Linked DNA regions of Homo sapiens: all the other regions are linked to region 1. Evidence: promoter capture Hi-C in 16 types of primary human blood cells and fetal thymus (Javierre and others, 2016). All regions are on one chromosome and are shown on one strand. Each heading gives the region's core, a stretch centred on a gene start or on the middle of the fragment in contact. The rest is flanking DNA. Distances are from core to core; before and after follow the strand shown.

Region 1 (2,537 bases), core at 13-2,512:
AAACAAAAACCTTTCCGTGATCATCAGGAGGCTGTCATATTCTCACCCCCTACTTCACGCTGGGAATCGAGCTGCGGGCTTTACAACAGCGTCAGCTGCTCCCTTTGGCAACGACCAGAGAGGTCCTTTCTCCAGAGATTTTTGTCAGCTCTGGGCACTTTTGCTTTGTGGGCCTATCTTCCACTTTATAAAAAATTAAAAATGCTACTTTCCACTGCATTCAGTACTTTTTCTTCTCTTTTCTTTTTTCTTTTCTTTTCTTTCTTTCTTCTTTCTTTCTTTTTCTTTTTCTTTTTTTTTTTTTTTTTGACACAGTTTCACTCTGTTGCCTAGGCTGGAGTGCGGTGGTGTGATCTTGGCTCACTGCAACCTCCACCTCCTGGGTTCAAGCGGTTCTCGTGACTCAGCCTCTTGAGTAGCTGAGACTACAGGCGCCCGCCACCATGCCCAGCTAATTTTTGTGTTATTAGTAGAGAAGGGGTTTTACCATGTTGACCAGGCTGGTCTCGAACTCCTGACCTCAGGTGATCCGCCCGCCTCGGCCTCCCAAAGTGTTGGGATTACAGGCGTGAGCCACCGTGCCCTGCCCTTTTTATGTATGTATTTATTTATTTGAGATAGGGTCTCGCTCTGTCGCTCAGGCTGGAGTGCAATGGTGCGATCTTGGCTCACTGCAACCTCCGCCTCCCGGGTTCAAGCGATTCTCCTGCCTCAGTCACCCGAGTACCTGGGATTACAGGCGCATGCCACCACGCCCGGCTAATTTTTGTATTTTGAGCAGAGACGGGGTTTCACCATGTTGGCCAGACTGGCCTCGAACTCCTGACCTCAAGTGATCCGTCAGCCTCGGTCTCCCAAAGTGCTGGGATTACAGGCGTGAGCCCCCACGCCCGGTCGCGTTTAGTACTTTTTACCAAAACTAAAAGAAATTAAAACACTTTCGTGGGTCCTGGACACTTCCGGAAGGATTTGTTTCCAGCTGCCAGATGAGGAAACTGGGGCTCGCAGAGCCGGCGCCGCAGGGGAGGGGCTGTGCACGAATCCAGTGGGAAACCTCTCTCCGGAGCTAAGCCCCTGGTCCACCCGGGCATCGCTCCGGGATCGACTGGGGGCGTTCCTTCCGCCGGTCCCCTTTGTTCCCAGTGCCGAGCCCGCGGCCCTGCCCTTCCTCCAGGCCCCGCCCCTTCTTCCAGGCCCCGCCTCCCGCCCGGGCCGAGGCGCGCGGCCGCGCGTGCGCCCGCCCGCCCGTCCCCGCCTCGCGCATGCGCCGCGCTCGCTCGCGGGAGGGCATGGCGGGGGCCGTGCCGGGCGCCATCATGGACGAGGACTACTACGGGAGCGCGGCCGAGTGGGGCGACGAGGCTGACGGCGGCCAGGTGAGGCGGGGCACTGGGCGCACCCTAGAGAGAATCGTTCGTCTCCGCCGCCGGCGGGCCGGCCCCACTCCCGGAGAGGCCGCGCGGCGCGAGGCTGCGGGCGTGCGGGGGGTGTGCGCGCGCACGGCCCGCGCGGTCACCGTGTGGTTCAAGCACAGCCCGCCCCGCCCCCGCCCGCCCGGGGTCCCGCGGCGCGGCCGCCGGGGTCCCCGCCTCCTCGCCTGCAGGACCTTGGGGTGGGGGTGAGGCGCCGGAGGCTCTGGCGCGGGGCGGCCCGAGGCCCCCAGTACCCCCTCGCTCCGGCCAGGCCCGGCGCCGGCCCTGCGACCCCCGCGGCGGGCGGGACACCAACGCTAAGGTGGAGGGTTGGGTCCGGAGCTCACAGACTTTTAAACAAAAATAAAGTGGAAAAACTTCACAGCAGCATCATGAGGAAAAAGTAGAACTTAGGGCATTCCTACATGTGCTTTACTGTTTTATAAACTGTACTCTTCAGCACCTTGGGCTGATTTCATCTGTTTTTGGGCAAACTGATGGAAAGGATTTTCGGGCCTTGACCTTCCAGGGTTTGGGGTGGAAGCCCAGGAGGGATCACTGTTCCACCCTGAGGACAGGGACTGCAGAGCCAGGGCAGGTAGCTCTAGTCTGGACAGTGTGTCCCCACCTTACTCTAAAGACCCAACTGAGGCGCATGATTGAAATGTAGCTTCTCACGTCCCTCCCCTGGAGACGGCCCAACAGTTGGTCTGGACGGGAGCCTGGGAACTTGCATTTTTTTTTTTTTTTTTTTTTTTTTTTTTTTTTGTGGTGGAGTTTCGCTCTTGTTGCCCAGGCTGGAGTGTAATGGCGCCATCGCGGCTCACTGCAACGTCTGCCTCTCGGATTCAAGCGATTCTCCTGCCTCAGCCTCCCGAATAGCTGGGATTACAGGCACCCACCACCATGCCCAGCTAATTTTTAAAATTTTGAGTAGAGAGGGGGTTTCACCTTGTTGGCCAGGCTGGTCTCAAACTCTTGACCTCAGGTGATCCACCCACCTCTGCCTCCCAAAGTACTGGGATTACAGGCGTGAGCCACTGCTCGTGGCCCAGGAACTTGCATTTTTAACAACAATCAAGATTGGGGATGTCTGGTGCATTTTGAAGTGGTATTATAAGGGAA
Region 2 (2,537 bases), core at 24-2,523, 420 kb after region 1:
ACGCACTCGCCCTGCAAATCTGAAAACCCGGCGCTCTCCCTCCTGCTCTTTAGAAAAAGGGGCATGGGTCACTGTCACCCATTTTCTTATCACGAGAAGAGAGTGCCTGTGTTATTCTCTCTTTAGCTAGGAGAGCTCTCTGTCTTTGTCACACGCACCCCCTTTCCATGTCTGAAAAGGGTGTTTGTGTCACTGTCTGGGCCCAATGTCACTGTCCATTTACTCTGCACCCTGGGCAGGCAGTGCCTTTCACTAGGAAAGAAGGAAGTTTCTCCCACTGCTCCGTCCCCAGGGTCCTCTCAGGGACCTTCCCCCTGTCCCCGCACCTAGTCCAGGTGGGAACCGGTCTCCCCTTGCAGGGAGGCGCTCTGTCTTCTCCCGGGCCTGGATACACAGGTGTCGCAGCAGGAGTTCAATGTACCCCGTGACGCCCTCGCGGCCAGACGCCCCTGCCCAGAAAGAGGGGACCCTCCACTTCACTGAACCCAGCCCGTGCCAGGCCCCCGAGGACACCGGGCCACAGTCTCCTAGGATGCTCCCAGGCCTGGAGCGGGGCAGGGTATCTCGGTGCCAGGCAAGTTGGTCCCCAACGAGCCACCCCAGCGGGGGTCCCTCCTCCAGTCCCCTGAATCCCTTGTCTCTGGGACCACGTCTCATCTAGGCTCAATCAGGGGCGATGACAACAACCATGACTTTGCCCCAGGAACCTGAGTGGGGGGCACGGGGCCCGAGGAAGAAGGGGCCAGCGGGCTGTTCCCCACGCTGCACCCCCACTCTGGCGCAGCGAAGTCTGCAGATCTCTGGGCCCCGGCGCTGCCGAAGCCTCCCCCACGCGCCGCGCTCACTCGCTGCACAACAGCGCCACCACGAGGCCGCGGGCGGAACTGCCGGCAGCACAGCGGTCGCACCCCCCGGGCCCCCCGCCGGCTGTGCGGATCCCGAATCCCTGCTTGGCTCGGAGCTGCCAGGTCTAAGCCGACCCTCAGAGACGCACGCCCCTGACCCACTGGGCAGCTGTGGTGTCTTTGTATACAATGTTCCCTTCCTTTCTCCTCTTCTCGTAGATGTTCAGATTCCAAGGGACTTTTCCAGAAGCTTCCAGAAAACTTTCCTTTTAGGGGCCCAAGAGACCTTGATTTCAGGGACACAGTGAACCCCACTTAGGACCCCAAGAAAAGGGACTTGTCTCCAATCTCCTGTCCTAGAATGTGCAGACTTAGGGGGCTCTCCTGTACTCCTGGGTCCCGCACATCTGTCCAGCCCCGCCTCGTTCACCAGAGGCAGCAGAGACAGGCTGAGCACACAGACGTGGGCTCAACTCTCTGCCCATCCACTCACTGTCTGGGGAACTTGAACAACTCACGTTGCCTTTCTGTGCCTCAGTTTCCCCATCTGGAACTGGTCTAAAAGAACACCCCCCGGTAGAGCTTCTGGGAAGATCACATGAAGTATGAAGCTTTGAGAGCTTTTGTACCCGACAGGCTCTCAGGAGGCAGCAGTCCAAACGGTGGAGGGATCATTATGACTAAGCAGGCACAGCTCCCAGCCGAGGGGGAGCTGGATCTCCCTGGCATCGACCACCCCAGGATGGTTATGGGATAAATACCTCTGCAGACGTTCAAGTGGAGAGGCTCAGGAGGATGCCGGGAATGTCTGCTGTTGCTGGGTGGGGAATTCAAATGATTTGTGTTCACTGTATCCCAGCTAAGAAGTTCTGGGCCGGGGCAATCTTTCTGATGCCCTCTTGTCTCCTGTTAACAAGGATTAGCTCAGCAGTATAGACAGGACCATAAAATATACCACCTTAGCCAGATCCTGGGGAGGCCACTAATGGAGCCACACTGGGCCAGGTCCACGGGGGCCTCTCAGTCACAGCTGGGAGATGAGGCAAAGCCACCGTCGTCCTCACCTGCCCATCCACCATCCCGGTGAGGTCAGTGCTCAAAACCTGTCTTTATCCCAGTCCGGTCTCACAGGGAGTATTTGTGCTGCTTTAAAGCCCTTCCCGGTGTCCTACTTACTTCTCCCTCTCAACCCGCCGGCTGAGATAGGCTAAAGAGAACATCGTTTCTTCAACAGATGTTTATTGAGGACCTGTTATATTTCGGGAGCCGTGCTGGCCGCTAGGGACACAGCCTGAACAAGATAGGTCCCTCTTCTCTCAGGGAACTGACATTCTGGTGGAGAGAGGACAAAAACCATGTATTAATAAGTAAACAAGACAATTTCAGAAGACAAAGGCTGTGAATGAAGCAAAATAGGATAGACAGTAATTGGAGAGGGCTCCTTTACACAAGGGGCGGGGGGCGGGGATAAGAAGAAGGAGCTGGCTGAGTGCAGAACAGCAGGAAGGGTATTCTAGGCAGAGTGAATAGCAGGTTGAGGCCCGGGGTCAGGGGAGAATGAGCTCTGCCCGTTTGAGGAATGGCAGGAAGGGCCCTGGGGCAGGTGCGCAGTGGTCAGGGAAGCGGCCAGAGCTGGCTTGTGCTGGATGCAAAGAGAAGGTAAGGGATTGGAGTACTTAATAAATATTTGTC
Region 3 (2,537 bases), core at 19-2,518, 330 kb before region 1:
GATTTGGGTTCTGTCCCTTGTGACCAAAGGAGTCTTGAGCCATGCATGGCCACATAGCTAATAAGGGGCTGCTGGTTGCACAGGCAGCATCTGGAGAAGGCTGGAGTCCAGCCCTGCACTTGCACATCACACAAATTACCACGAGCAGGTCAGTGGTCATGGCCATGGGAAAAAAAACTAGAAACGAGTGAGTTGGCTATGTTTCAATACCTGCTAGCGGAAAAACACAATGATTTCCTTTATGTTTTTCAGGGTTTGAGTCATCCAGGTCAGTCCTGGCTTGGCACATTAACTTATTGTTCCTGCCAAGGGAGATGGTTAAGATGGGAGGGTTGATTTATTTGAGTACACATGTGTCCACATCATCCTGGAAAAAAAGTAAAATGCAGATATGCTTTGCTGGCATGTGTTGTGACCCAAGAGGCCTCTTCTTGGCCTCAAAGACCAAAAGCCACGATGTTAGACATTGTTTCAGTCTTGAACTTGACCAAGCATGGGCAGGCACCTGGTATGATGGTGACATAAGGGCCCTGGGAGAGGAGAGTCCTCTCCCCACACGGTGGACAGGGTAGGAGGATTACTTTCTATTGAATAGTCTGAGACAAGAGTGGTGAGAAGGAGCCAGTTATTTGAAGAACCTAGGAAGGAGAGCAAAGCAGGTGCTAAGGAGGTGTGAGGAATGGTGGGAAGGCTAGTGTGGCTGAAAAGGGGTGAGCGAGGGGGACAGAGAACTGCCCTAATCTCTCCACCCATTTTGAGTCTTGACTGTCTGGTATTCTCTAGCACTTAATATAGTTAATCTCACCTTTTGTGCATTAATCCATCCAGTCATCCATTCCGCAAACATTTATCACACCTGACAGTGTAGGGGGTGCTGTCTTCAATGAAGGGTTCACCAAGCAGAAGGGGCAAGACACATCCCCCGCCACTACCCCCACCAGGCAGAGAAAGGCCTGTGAGCCAAGTCCTGGAAAGAAAAAAGCTCACCATTTAGGTGGGGCCTGTTGGGCAGGGCTTTGAATGCCCAGGGGGCACTCCGCCATGTGGAAAGTGTAGAAAACCTAAATGCAGAACTCCAGGAAATACTGATCTATGGGAAAAAAATTGTACTGAAATCCATGATTCTGGAATAAATCAGATCTAGTCTTATACTATATTCTAATACAGCCAAGTGGTGGCAGGGACTGAAGGTTTAAGAGAAAGCGAGAAGAGAAACACTTAAGATGGAGACTACTCCATTAATTAGCTTCATTTTTTTTTTTCTGACAACCAAGAAAAGTCCATCATTAGTTAATATTAGTGATGCCCAGCTTGGTTCAACTTAGAGCACCTGTTTTCTGCTGAGCGTCATTTGAGATCGGCTGGCATGGGCCAGAGGGAGCTGTTTCAGGGCCTCAATCAGGCAGTGACATGATCAGATTTATGCTTTGGAAAGGTCACTGTGGCTGCAGGATGAGGAGGGAAGAGACGGGTGGTTGTTAGCAGGCTGCTGGGAAAATGTACACGATGAGAACCAGAATTTGGGTAGAGACAGTGGAGATGCAAATTCCCTGAAGGCAAGAGTTTTGCTGTTTCATTCTTTCAGCAGTGCCTGGCAAGAGATAGGCACAGCCACTGGTAGATTTTTAGAAATGCCTACTGTATTGAATTGTCTGGTATTAAAAGCTACGGGACTCCAGACAAAACAAAAGTGTTGCCTCTCTCCAGAGTCTCCCTTCTTGGGAGAGGCATCATAGCTGAAGACAGACCCAGATAGGGAGTTTTCTGTTGTTGGAAATACTCAAGGTTTTGAGGAACTATTTGGGGACACAGAACACACAACTCCTGTTACCCGAACCTGGCCCGAATCTGTCTGTCAGATCTGTGCAGACGAGACATATGTTAGGCCTGGGGGCTTTTGCTGCTTGATAAGCAAACAACCATCTGTCTTTCTATAGGTGGGAGAAAGACCAATGTTAAAAGGTGTCTTTGAGATGGTTTAGCCCCCTCTTCCACATGAGTGTGCACTGCAGACACATCTGGATTCCCAAGGTCCAGAACAAGAAGCTCGGAAACGTGCTTAGATTTCCAAGTGTTCAGTTCTCAATACCATGCCATTCTCTTTGGAGTTTATGATGCCTTCCAGGGAGAGCAGAGCCCACGTGAGCTTTCCAACAGTAAGACTACTGCTGTAATAAATCATATTGCCCATTTGTGGCGCACTTACTCTATGCTGAGGTTGTATAAGGGCTTACATGAGCCCTATCTCATTTAAATTGTTTTCACCAAAGGGTGTGTGTCCCACTGCTGACCTGTTGAGCTAACCATCCCCTCTCAGTACTTGAAAACCTGCACCTGCCCAAGCCATGGCCTGGCTTCAATGGGGCTTCCTCCTGCACTGAATGAGATGACAAGAAAACAATGAAACACTTGTCCCCAAAAGTGACTTATTGGATTCGTTGGCAGAATGTTAGAAAGTGGGTATGAAGCCCAAGAAACAGGACACGGAGCCTCACCAAGCCCGAGGAGTATTACCGAATCCTAGCCCAGGCCAAGAA
Region 4 (2,537 bases), core at 11-2,510, 310 kb before region 1:
TTAATTTGGTTGCCAAGCCCTGTCTATTAAAAGTGAAAACTAACTTAAGTTTCTCACTCTGTAATACCCAGGTTTTGATGTGCTGCTGAATTATGCATTGGTTTTGAAGTTTCTTAAATAAAAACTAGTGAAATATGTTTTGTAATATAACACAGATAAAAGGAAAAGCTTTCTCTGCGGGAGTGAGCAAATCTAGTGGGAACTAAAAATTTTGTTTTAGGTTCTACTTTATAAATCATTTTGAGAGGTTTTACAGTATATTATTTAGTATTGGCTTCCCTGGTGTTCTGGGTTACTTATTAGAAAAGTCAGCGTGCTCCATCTTCCCTCCAGCCACAAGGCTGTAGGCAGCACGCGCGTGCTCGGCAGTCGGCTAGTCTAAGGGTGATTGAGCGTCGGGAGCTGCTCCCCATGACCGGACTCTCGGTGCTGTCCCCGTGCCTGATGTTTCCTCCTGGTGGATGAGGGGCTCCTCCAGGTGGGCGGGCAGGCTCACTTAGGAAACAAGCCCACCGCGGGGGATGGAGCAGGAGAGATTGCCATTCTCGCCAGGGCTGCCTTCCCGCTGTCTCCTCCTCCCTCCTGTGCCATAGCAAGGTCTGGAAGAGGCAGCGCATGCTCTCCCTGGACGTGCCTCCCGGCGCCCTCTGAACTCTGCTGTCCTCTGGCTCTCCTTTCTCAGTGCTCTGCGTCTTTCGCCAGCCAGGTGGGGCCCTTTGGCATTTCTCTAGCAGGCATGATGGAGTTCCCGCTCCTGCCGAGCTTCCAGGATGCGGTGTTAAGGTGAAGAGATGTGCAGGGTGCAGCCTCGTCCCCAGATTGAGCTTGGAGGGCTCCTTTGCTGTATCGTTAGCGGCACTGGGAGGACGCGCCTCAGAGGGATCTTTCTGCATATGACATCCATGGGGCACACGTGTCTGTTTTTATTTCAAAGGATGAGTTTTTGTTTCCAAATTTAGGGGAGGTCGAAATGGGGCCTCTTCCGGGTGTCTGTTGCCTACCTGCCAGGTACGGTCCTCCAGCCCGTTGTTTCCTTCCGCGGTGAAGGAACTGTGCATTCGCTCCAGGAACACGGACCGGGAACAGGCGACCCGTGCTGCAGGGGCACTTGCCACGGCCTGCAGGAGGAAAAGCCGGGAGAAGCAGGCCCAGCTGCACCCGGAAGCATGAGCTTTCACTTCCCTGTCAGGCTTTGTCTTAGTAGTAGGTTTCCAACAAATCCATTTCCACGTCCAGGGTAAATAAGCAGCACCAGGATCATGGGGCTCTTCCACTCCTGGTGATTGAATTCCGTGGGATTGATTGGAGGGATTACAATCATGTAGCCTGTAGCAGAGACCTCAGTCACTGTGCAGAGAGATCTGGAAGCCTCATTCTGGAAACGAGTGGGACTTGATTTGGGATTTTGGGGAAAATGACGGCCTTTTTTCCCTCCTCTTTTTGTAGGCAGAACAGTATCAAAAGAAGAATCGGAAGATGCTTGTGATTTTAATATTATTTGTCATCATCATTGTGCTCATTGTTGTCCTCGTTGGCGTGAAGTCTCGATAAGTGGCATTGGGTTTTCGTGTGTGCCGCGCGTGTGGATCTCCCGGGTGTGAGGGGCTTGGCCTGCGCCCCGCCAGCTGCCCGCAGAGGTGCAGCCTCGAGGAATCTGAGGGCGTCGGGGCAGCGAACCTTTGCATCCACGGACTCCTCCTTCCCTAGTCCTGCTCAAGCGGTCCGGGGAATGGGTTTTTGTTTTTCCTTCATTGTTGAGAATTTAAGGACCTTTGATACTGCTGCACAATAGAGATTGAGTTCTGGGATCAGTTATAATATATATTTTTTTTAGAAAGAGAAAATGAGCTGAGAGTTTACAGGCACTGCAGAAGCTGTTCAGTATTATATGTGTATATGCTATTTTTTTAGCAGCCATGTCTGAGCAGAATGTTAACATAATTTTTGGAAAAATTTTCTTTAAACCATCTGGTTTTTAAGAAATTTGGTACCAAAAATTGATGAGTAGAGGCAAAAATGCCCCTTCATCTTTCTCTATATATTTTCCAGTTGAAAACAAACTAAGAAGTCCTTTAAGAATTTATAATCCGTTCCCCATTAACTTAATTTAGCTTTTCCATCACTGTTAATGATCAGAGTAACAAAGTGTGAAAAATAAGAAACCATCATTGATGTTAATTAACACATTTAGATGGGCCAGTTAAAACAGCTTCATAAGTTTTAAATTAATTGTAAATGGAATATTCCTCATTTAAAATTTTTGCACTGCATTTTCTACTGTAAACCAAAAGAGGTTACTAAGCAAAACCACCTAAATTTAAGTTGGTGATTTAAATGAATCTCACATTAAAAGAAAGCTTGACAGTGTTATGAAAGCCACCAGACTCAGCCAGTGTGTCCCCATGGGTATCCCCAGCCATCCTTGCTCAATCCATTACTTATATACTAACTACATAATGACCTGTTCAAACCAGACTCTATTTAATGAACTGTGAATTTACACAGAGGCCATTTTAAATGGGTCACCCCATTTAGGA
Region 5 (2,537 bases), core at 22-2,521, 280 kb after region 1:
CTCTACCTGAGCATCGTAACTTGGGACTACTTTTGCTAAAAGGTAATTTCCAGGCACCTCAGCACAAAGGAAATGAAGGCATCTTTGATCCCACATAGCAAAGAAACCCAGGTCGACACTATTTCAGACCTAACTTCCTTGGGAGGAAACATCAAATATTTGATGACTGATGTTGTCATTCCCAAATTCTTTTTCTCAAGAAAGATTAAGATATCATGCTTTAAGGCAGTGGTTCTCAGAGGGGGCAATTTTATTTCCCAGGCATCTGTATGCAGAGGGCAGGGATTCTGCTCAACGTCCTGCAGTGCGTAACACAAGGCAGTTCCCATAACAAAGATGTATCCAGTCTATAGTGCCAGAGGTGCTGAGGTTGAGAAGCTCTGGTCTCAGGAGTTAGGGTGACAGTGTAGTGCTGGCCCCAGAAACAGCTCAGCCCTCATGCTGACGATGAGACTGGAGTGGAGAGAAAGACGTACCCTGGCAGGACCAGAGGCAGAGTCCAGGGCCCACAGTCCGGTATTTCTTCACAGCTGCATTAGGACATGTTTCTAGAGCCTACACACAGCAGGACATTAACTGATGAAAATTTAAACCCCAAAATCATCCCCCTGCCCTGCTCCATTCCACCTCGAGGAGAAAGAGCCAGGAGAAAGGATGACACGTCTATGGGAATAGATGCTGTTTATTGCTTTACCATCCCCAAGCACACTTGAACACTGAGTAGACACTAAGGAAATATTTACATAGGGAAGGATAGGATTTTGCTGTGAAAGTAGATGCAACCCAAACGCTCTACAAACTTCTATAGCCAACTGGAATGAAAAAGAATGAACACCAATGCTGGGCATCAAGTTGAGAAAATCGAGAGTATCGGTTTGCTCCTTCTTCCTTTTAGGGGAAATCAAGGACCAGAGGGTTTTGCCCAAGCTTGAGTGAGAGGCAAAGTGGTGACTGACACCAGGACTTCACCCCTAAACTCCAACATTTTTGCCATGACACCACCACCTTCTGCTTCCAAAATTTTCCATTATGCTCTACTGTCTTTCCTAGAAGTGGAAAGAAGGACATTTTTGTCAAGATTTTCTGCATCAGGGTTTGAAAATTTTGATGACTTTTTGGTTAACTGAAAATTACCCAGAAAATCAAATTATCTAGACTGCTCATCCCCCAAATGTTCTAGTTAATCAAGGTTTGATTGTGTTTGTTTTGCAAAAAGAAAACTTCTCTCCTAAGACATTTAGACTCAAATAGATGTGCCCGGTGCTTATGTGGTCTCATAATTTATGCACTTGAGTTGCTGTTCCGTGGGCAATTTGGCAGGGATCACAGGCATAGACAAAGAAGATGTTAACAGCAAAAAAGACATCACCAGAAAGCCTTTGGAAGACAAACACTTCACATCTTCAATTACAAGACAACCTGATGCAGAAAGAGACTAAATTAATTTAAAAACCTCCTGCACAAAGAAAATAATGGAAAAATACATCACAAGTAGTTATCCCTTTTGTGCTAAAAACAAGTGATTCGGAGAAAATAACTGCATGGGGCTGAATGTGTTAGTCTTATAATCTTCTAGTTTTAAATTCTTAGGGGAGAAACAGAGAATAAGAAAAAAGAAGCTTTCATTGTTGCAACAAACATTTATTGGATATTTAGTGTATTGCCAGGCACCAGGCTACACTTTCTGTGACTTTTTCTACTCTTAAAATTTCTTTCAATCATGTGAAAGAAACTTCTAGATGTCTCATTACTGATTCCAACAGTGGCTCTAGAAAGGCCATTTTTTTCTGAGGTTTTTGCAAAAACTGTTTTGGCTCAACTTAGAAGTGCAGCTGGGAATATCACTTGGTGTTATTCCCCCTGGGAGCCTGAGTTCTCTGCGACTGGTTTATCCTAAGGTTTGGGGGCCACCCATTTGCAAGGAGAGGGCCTTAGATTACTAGAGATTATGAATATTTCAGGTTGAGTTCTCTGGGAAGTAGGCTCTGAAATGGAGCTCGGTGTGCCAGGGGTTTATTAGGGAGTTACCATGGACAACCACATCTGTGTAGAGGAGGAGGAAATGGATACAGGCAACAGCAGCCTTGGCCAACCCATGGGATGCTCTGCAGCTAGAATGGGCCTTTAAAGTTGGCTAGACCAGGACTTTAGACTCCTGCATTCATCAGTCACTGGATGTGGGCTGCCTGGGGCTACCTGAGAAAGTTGTGACCTTGAGGGAGGCAGCTCTTTGCAACTGAAGCAATCTCTGAAGGGACAGATTGCTGAAGGCTGCTTGCTGACAATCTTTCACTAAAGGGGCTCTGGGTGGCATATCATAGCATTCACTACTGTGAGGCTCCATTGAGAACTGACCTGCCTTCCTTCCCTCCTTCCTTCCTTCTTTCCTTCTTTCCTTCCTTCCTTCCTTCCTTCCTTCCTTTCCTCCTTCCTTTCTTCCTCCCTCCCTCCCTCTTTTCCTTGCTTCTTTTCTTACTTTCTTTCCTCCATTCTTCCTTTCTTCCTTCCTCCCTTCATTCCTTCCCTCCTTCTTTCCT

What was found. Contacts are between HindIII fragments. The CHiCAGO score rates a contact against its expected background, and 5 or more counts as called.
Region 2: a fragment that was not itself captured here is called in contact with the fragment with the promoter of NELFCD in region 1 in 1 of 17 cell types (total CD4 T cells); the score reaches 6.7 in total CD4 T cells.
Region 3: a fragment that was not itself captured here is called in contact with the fragment with the promoter of NELFCD in region 1 in 1 of 17 cell types (neutrophils); the score reaches 7.0 in neutrophils.
Region 4: a contact is called between a fragment that was not itself captured here and the fragment with the promoter of NELFCD in region 1, in 1 of 17 cell types (neutrophils). The highest score is 5.9, in neutrophils.
Region 5: a fragment that was not itself captured here is called in contact with the fragment with the promoter of NELFCD in region 1 in 1 of 17 cell types (naive CD4 T cells); the score reaches 5.2 in naive CD4 T cells.

What each region holds. Positions count from the first base shown.
Region 1 is chr20:58,979,994-58,982,530 of GRCh38, forward strand. NELFCD (negative elongation factor complex member C/D) reads left to right here and starts at 1,263. Exons shown (of 15, transcript NM_198976.4): 1 at 1,263-1,376. The coding sequence starts at 1,317. RefSeq lists a silencer at 1,119-1,598 and an enhancer at 1,521-2,021. The HindIII fragment of the contact is 8,660 bases long and covers 1-2,537 here.
Region 2 is chr20:59,403,026-59,405,562 of GRCh38, forward strand. No RefSeq gene overlaps it. Among named protein-coding and RNA genes, the nearest start is that of EDN3, 100 kb to the left of the region's middle. RefSeq lists an enhancer at 1,410-1,910. The HindIII fragment of the contact is 361 bases long and covers 1,094-1,454 here.
Region 3 is chr20:58,645,472-58,648,008 of GRCh38, forward strand. The region is part of intron 1 of LOC107985410 (a long non-coding RNA gene); the gene reads right to left. Among named protein-coding and RNA genes, the nearest start is that of STX16-NPEPL1, 4.5 kb to the right of the region's middle. RefSeq lists a silencer at 2,022-2,316. The HindIII fragment of the contact is 2,566 bases long and covers 1-2,537 here.
Region 4 is chr20:58,674,741-58,677,277 of GRCh38, forward strand. STX16 (syntaxin 16) reads left to right here. Exons shown (of 9, transcript NM_001001433.3): 9 at 1,447-2,537. The coding sequence ends at 1,551. All of the region lies in intron 8 of STX16-NPEPL1 (STX16-NPEPL1 readthrough (NMD candidate)), which reads left to right. Among named protein-coding and RNA genes, the nearest start is that of NPEPL1, 17 kb to the right of the region's middle. RefSeq lists enhancers at 1,087-1,612, 1,613-2,137. The HindIII fragment of the contact is 2,189 bases long and covers 167-2,355 here.
Region 5 is chr20:59,262,938-59,265,474 of GRCh38, forward strand. No RefSeq gene overlaps it. Among named protein-coding and RNA genes, the nearest start is that of EDN3, 36 kb to the right of the region's middle. The HindIII fragment of the contact is 692 bases long and covers 926-1,617 here.